Linked DNA regions of Homo sapiens: region 1 is linked to region 2. Evidence: promoter capture Hi-C in human tissues and cell types (Jung and others, 2019). All regions are on one chromosome and are shown on one strand. Each heading gives the region's core, a stretch centred on a gene start or on the middle of the fragment in contact. The rest is flanking DNA. Distances are from core to core; before and after follow the strand shown. Region 1 overlaps RAD51 (RAD51 recombinase). Region 2 holds the start of OIP5 (Opa interacting protein 5).

Region 1 (3,207 bases), core at 148-2,647, 630 kb after region 2:
CTGAAGGATATGGAGAAAAAGAAGAGCTGATTCCTGCCTCCACAGAGCTTATAACTTAATCAGAAAGATAAACTATACAAAATAACTATAGTACAAGTAGATGTGATGGGTAATATGAGAAGTACTAACAAGCCATGGGAGCTCAAGGAATATAGACTACTTCCTTTGGTGAAAAACAGGAGAATGTATTAGCAAAGACAAAACTGGTAGAAATGGTCAGGCTAGTGGCATGTGCCTATAGTCCCAGCTACTCAGCAGGCTGAGAATTCCTTGAGCCCAGGAGTTTGAAGCTGAAGCTGCAGTGAGCTTTGATCATGCCACTGCACTCCAGCCTGGGCAACAGAGTGAGACTTTTCTTTTTTTTCTTTAAAAAAAAAAAAAAAAGGTGGGCACAGTGGCTAGTGCCTGTAATTTCAGCACTTTGGGAGGCTGAGGTGGGCAGATTGCTTGAGGCCAGGAGTTTGAGACCAGCCTGGGCAACATGGTGAAACCCCGTCTCAACTGAAAATACAAAAATTAGCCACGTGTGGTGGTGGGAGCCTGTAATCCCAGCTACTTGGGAGGCTGAGGCACGACAATCACTTGAACCCGGAAGGCAGAGGTTGCAGTGAGCAGAGCCAAAATTGCACCATTGTGCTCCAGCCTGGGTGACACAGCGACACTCTGCCTCAAAAAAAAACAGAAAACAAACAATACAATCATAATCTTTACTGGCCAGAAACAAAGAACATAAAATATTGAAAAGTAAAGACACGTAAGTCTATACCATATTGCATCTCAAATCATGTATTCTAGGTTTGCATTGTTGTGTTCATAGAAACAGAGAAGTGACTTGATTTCTGAAACCAAGATCTCGCAAGGCAAAAAGAAAAGATCCTGTCAGCATTTGTTCATTCACAAAAACTGATACCCAAAAAGCGAAAACAGAAAGACTTTAGGGACCCCTACTGGCTTAGTCAATATGACAATCTTTTAACAAAAATACTGTTAGGGACTCAGAACCCTTATTTCCAATTAAGCAACCACTTCAGCAAATATTCATTTGAGTAATCCAATAAATTTATCTAACGCTAACAGTAATCGATACGTGAAAATACAATTTTATAAATAAATATTTGCGGTGGGGCGCGGTGGCTCACACCTGTAATCCCAGCACTTTAGGAGGCTGAGGTGGGCAGATCACAAGGTCAGGAGATCGAGACCATCCTGGCCAACGTGGTGAAACCCTGTCTCTAATAAAAATACAAAAATTAGCTGGGTGTGGTGGCACATACCTGTAGTCCCAACTACTCGGGAGGCTGAGGCAGGAGAATCACTTGAACCTGAGAGGCGGAGGGTGCAGTAGACCAAGATCACGCTATTGCACTCCAGCCTGGCAACAGAGCGAGACTCCGTCTCAAAAAAAAAAAAAAAAAAAAAAAAAATCTGCTTTATACTACATAAAACTTCAAGGGTAAAGGCAATAAAACTGTGTAACTATATAAACACTGAAGAAATAGGTTCATAAAACAAAATGTAACCATGGGGAAGTATGTATGTTAAAGAACTATATGAAGCTAGAAAAATAAATAGGCCAGGCACAGTAGCTCACACCTATAATCCAGCACTTTGGGAGGCTGAGGTAGGTGAATCGCCTGAGCTCAGGAGTTCGAGACTACCCCGGCATGGTGGCATGTGCCTGTAGTGTAGTCCCAGCTACTTGGGAGGCTGAGGTGAGAGGATCGCTTGAGCTTGGGAGGTGAAGGTTGCAGTGAGCTGAGATGGCACCACTGCACTCCACCCTGTGTGACAGAGCGAGAACCCGTCTCCAAAAAAAAAAAAAAAGAAAGAAAAAAAAAAGAAAAGAAAAGAAAAGAAGAAAAGAAACAGGTAACAGTCACCCCTGGAAAGGATAATGAGATGACCGAAGAATAAGAGATAGAAGGAAGAAGTCTTTCACTACATTCCCTTTTGTACTATTCCCACTAATGCCTCCCTAGGTTAAGTAAGCAGTACTTACCAGAATTTTATCAGCTTTGGCTTCACTAATTCCCTTAATATTTATTAGCTCCTTCTTTGGCGCATAGGCAACAGCCTCCACAGTATGGAATCCAGCTTCTTCCAATTTCTTCACATCGTTGGCATTTATGCCACACTGCTGCAAATGAAGAAAACCATGGATAAATTTAAGCTTTAGTTCTCTAATCTAACACAGATGTTATGTGTCCTACATACTTCACAGAGGTGCTTGAAGACTTGTAATACAACTGTCCCTTGAAATCCTTGGGGGGGCGGGGGGAGATGGGAAGTTGGTTCCAGGACCCCCAGCAGATAACAAAATCCAACAATGCTCAAGTCCCTTATATAAAATGGCGTATTACCTGCATATAACCTATGTACATCCTCCTGTATACTTTTTTTTGATATGTAGTTGATTGAATTTTTGATACGTAGTTTGTTGAATTTGCTGATACAGAATCCGGAGATACAGAGAGCCTACTGTTATTATATGCAAAAGCTGAAAAATGAGCCCTATATATGAGGTACTTAATAACAAATTAACAACCTTTTCATTATCAAAATCAATAATTTTAAACTAGCACTAAGCCATGTACATTAAAAAGAACTCCTATTAGCAATTGGAATTAAAAAGTAACTCCCAACCTTTTTTTGTGACCCTAAATGATCTCTGAGACCTTGGGCCCTACAAGACCACTTTAAGACAGTGTTGCTCAACACTTTCCACATCAAGCACACATAAAAAACTGTATTTTTACACTATGGTAGGGTAAATAGATAAGGCTGCTCAGAATATAAAGAGCACTATCTTGGCCTGTCAATACTTTTTGTTGAACAATGACCAGAAAGCTCTGCTCTAACAACTGACATTAACAGTGAGGAAAACTACTTTTTGTCAGGGACTTTTATACCTCTTCTCAAAACAAACCACCCAAAGACACCTCTTTCTTCCTATATTCAAGTCAGCTTTGGTTTCATTAGCCACCAAAACCATGACTTCTGGGAAAACATGAGTTAGTAGGTGAATGTGGGTGCATTCAGGGGTTGGGAGAATTTAGAAGAGGGGAGAGATTAGTTTGCCAACATAAGCCATGTCTGCTATTAATATTTAAGCAATATGCATGTTTGAGTATAAGGATGCTCATGGCACCAGAAGTTATGACTCTGAACTTTCAAATGTTTATCACAAATCCATTTAAGTAACTTCTA
Region 2 (3,391 bases), core at 746-3,245:
GCTAGGCAGCAAAAAAGCCTAAGGAATTTAGGCTGAGATATTAAGGCTTTGTTTACGAAGTATAGAGGAGCCACTAACCACTACAGCCCAGAAATATCCCCAAGGAAAACCCTTTGGTCATTCAGCCCCAACAGGCACTTAGGCCCTGATTATTTTGTTTAAACAATTTAGGTCGGGTGGGGTGGCTCACGCCTGTAATCCCAGTACTTTGGGGGCTGAGGCGGGCGGATCAGGAAGTCAGGAGTTCGAGACCAGCCTGACCAACATGGTGAAACCCCATCTCTACTAAAAATACAAAAATTAGCCAGGCGTGGTGACACGCGCCTGTAATCCCAGCTACTCAGGAGGCTGAGGCAGGAGAATCGCTTGAACCCAGGAGGCGGAGGTTGCGGTGAGCCGAGATGGCGCCACTGCACTCCAGCCTGGGCGACAGAGCAAGACTCCGTCTCAAAGAAAAAACAAACAAACAAACAAATAAAAAAAAAATTGTGACGATTGATTTAAGCATTTACTCACTGTCAGTATCACAGCCTGCAGGAGAAACCTCCAGAGTATATAGCAGTATTATGTGGGAAGTCTCAACTATTAACAAAATATATAAAACCGCTATCCTACATTAAATCCCCAAATCTTCTTCTAACATCTTGGGTTTTTTGTTTGTTTTTGTTTTGTTTGAGACTGAGTCTCTCTCTGTCACCGAAGTTGGAGTGCAGTGGTGCGATCTTGGCTCACTGCCACCTCGGCTTCCCAGGTTCAAGCGATTCTTCTGCCTCAGCCTCCCAAGTAGCTGGGATCACAGGCAAAAAGCTTGGATCACAGGCGTGTGCCACCACGCCCGGCTAATTTTTTAAGGGCCAGGCTGGTCTCGAACTCCTGACCTCAGGTGATCCGCCTGCCTCGACCTCCCAAAGTGCTGGGATTACAGGCGTGAGCCACAGCGCCGGGCCAACTCTCCAAACATCTTGTAGCCTCGGAGTCAAAGACCTTACTGGTTTTGATAGAGACCATCAACCCAACAGTCATCAATAAAAATTTACCCAAGGAGGTGCTCCCCTAAAAGTCGATTTTTTTTTTCTGACAGGTCCATCAATAAAGTATCAAGAGATTATCGGCAATATTACAAATCACTGGAGTCTGTTTGGGGTTTTCCAGAAGCTGAGCCAATTATTTACTTAATTGTCTAACGATTAACGACACCCCTTGTGCTTTCTGGGCCTGAGTTTCGTAATCGACGCCCTGAGAGGTATACAGTAATTTCAAAACAAAACAAAACAAAAAACAATAAACCATCCCTCGGAATAGAGCTTATCATGTGAGCACCCAGACAAGCCAGCTTCAAAATGAGGTGAAAACTACAGTTCCTCTTCCGTTTATCAGAGTTCTAACTGGGACTACCGTGAACCACATCTACTGCCCGAGGGGCAGGGAGAGCTGCCTCAGTCCCGGGCTTCCCTCTCGGTCCCTTCGCACCGCATCTCCCCGAGGCCGCTATTCCCGCCGCGCCCGCCCAGGGACCCGCACCGCCAGCGCCGTACCCTCAGGTTGGCCCGGAGACCCAGACTCTTGGCTAAGTTCTGCAGGTCACTGTACTTGAGGGAGTCCAGCTCCTCTAGAGAGGGGATGATCATCGCGATTCGAAATCCCGGCGATACTCGGAAGATGGATCACCAAACTTCGTCAGCGCGGTTCAAATCCCTGGCGCCACTCTTAACTTTGACTAGGCAGAAATTTATAGACAGTTTAAATGAAGAATGCCGCGCTTCCATTGGTTGAAAATGCCTCAAAGGCGGGGTTTCTAACCCTGACCAATAGAAAGGCTGATTTCCCGTCCCAACAGAGGCGCGCTTTTTTCACACTTCACGAATACGCAGGCGCCAAAGGGCCTGTAACGCCTGTTCAGGTAACGAGTGCGCGGACTCGGACTCCAGTGCTTGGATTGCCCATGATGTCCAATGAGGACGCAGGAGCTGTGCTTGGGGCGGGGCCTGGCGTGTATTCGAAAGGAAGGCGCCGGCTGCGGGAAGATGGCGGCTCAGCCGCTGCGGCATCGCTCACGTTGTGCAACGCCGCCCCGGGGGGACTTTTGTGGTGGCACTGAGAGGGCGATTGACCAAGCTTCTTTTACGACCTCCATGGAGTGGGATACGCAGGTGGTGAAGGGGTCCTCGCCGCTCGGCCCCGCAGGGCTGGGGGCTGAGGAGCCAGCCGCCGGCCCGCAGCTGCCGTCTTGGCTGCAGCCTGAGAGGTGCGCTGTGTTCCAGTGCGCACAGTGTCACGCAGTGCTCGCCGACTCGGTGCACCTCGCCTGGGACCTGTCGCGGTCCCTCGGGGCCGTGGTCTTCTCCAGTGAGTGCAGTGAAGCGTTCGGGAAAGGCAGAGGCTAGCCCGAGAGGGTGTTCCCGCTTTCTCCACCGGGTGGCGGAGAACCACCTGGGGAAGAAAACGGGATGAAAAGTTGGAAGCAAATAACTCCTTGGCCTGGGGATGGGGCAGGGAATCGGGGAGTCTCCTGATATTTACGGCCAGGATGAGTCTGTCTAGAGGAGAGATTTTCCATTTCAAGGCCCGCAGAGTATGGGTTCTGACCCGTGTTTGTCTTCCTAGGAGTTACAAATAACGTCGTTTTGGAAGCGCCCTTCCTAGTTGGCATTGAAGGTTCACTCAAAGGCAGGTACGTATTGATAATTACATTGGTCTCTAGTCCCTGACTTTATGAGACTGAGGATCGTGGAACTGACATGTACGAGGAGAAAACAGTTTGGGATGCTGCTTTTACCTGTTTGACTCTTATATGAACTTGATGTATTAATGAAATGAAAAAGTTGTATTTGTGTATTGGTTTTAGGATCTTCCTGAGGGCCACTTCTCCCAGGTGGCTTGTACAAGTGAAGTGAGGCTAAGAAAGATGTATCTAGTAGTGGACAAAAGAAAAAAATAACCTTTTGGTTTACAGTGAGAATAACATACTATAAACTACAATCCTTTTAGATATTAGAACTTTTTGATACAGGGTCTTGCTCTCGCCCAGGCTGGAGTGCACTGGTGCGCTCATAGCTCACTACAGCCCCTACCTTCCTGGCTCAAGCTATCCTCCCAACCTCACCCTCCGGAGTAGCTGGGACTACAGGCACACAGCACCACTCCCGGCTAATTTTTAAATTTTTTGTAGAGGCCTTAGTATGTTGCCCACGCTTGATATTAGAACTTTTAAGTTTGCGATTATGGTTAGTTTGTAATAAGCTATGCCAGGGCTAATTCTTCAGTAACCCCAGAAACTGGAGAAAAACACAACTAGAATGTTATGTACTTGAATACTGCCTGGTAAACTTTGCGACCTGCCTGTACTATGATTTACAAGTGACAATAAAGTAGTCAGTGAATTTGGTATTGC

The links. The method cuts DNA at HindIII sites, captures the fragments that hold promoters and counts their contacts. A contact is called where the count stands out against the background at its distance.
Region 1: a fragment that was not itself captured here is called in contact with the fragment with the promoter of OIP5 in region 2 in 1 of the 25 tissues and cell types used here (mesenchymal stem cells).

What each region holds. Positions count from the first base shown.
Region 1 is chr15:40,699,994-40,703,200 of GRCh38, reverse strand. It overlaps RAD51 (RAD51 recombinase), which reads right to left. Exons shown (of 10, transcript NM_002875.5): 3 at 2,000-2,137. Among named protein-coding and RNA genes, the nearest start is that of RAD51, 6.4 kb to the right of the region's middle. The HindIII fragment of the contact is 3,762 bases long and covers 1-3,207 here.
Region 2 is chr15:41,331,195-41,334,585 of GRCh38, reverse strand. It overlaps OIP5 (Opa interacting protein 5), which reads left to right and starts at 1,995. Exons shown (of 5, transcript NM_007280.2): 1 at 1,995-2,346; 2 at 2,605-2,671. The coding sequence starts at 2,025. NUSAP1 (nucleolar and spindle associated protein 1) reads right to left here and starts at 1,705. Exons shown (of 11, transcript NM_016359.5): 1 at 1,536-1,705. The coding sequence starts at 1,628. RefSeq lists an enhancer at 1,982-2,241. The HindIII fragment of the contact is 6,722 bases long and covers 1-3,391 here.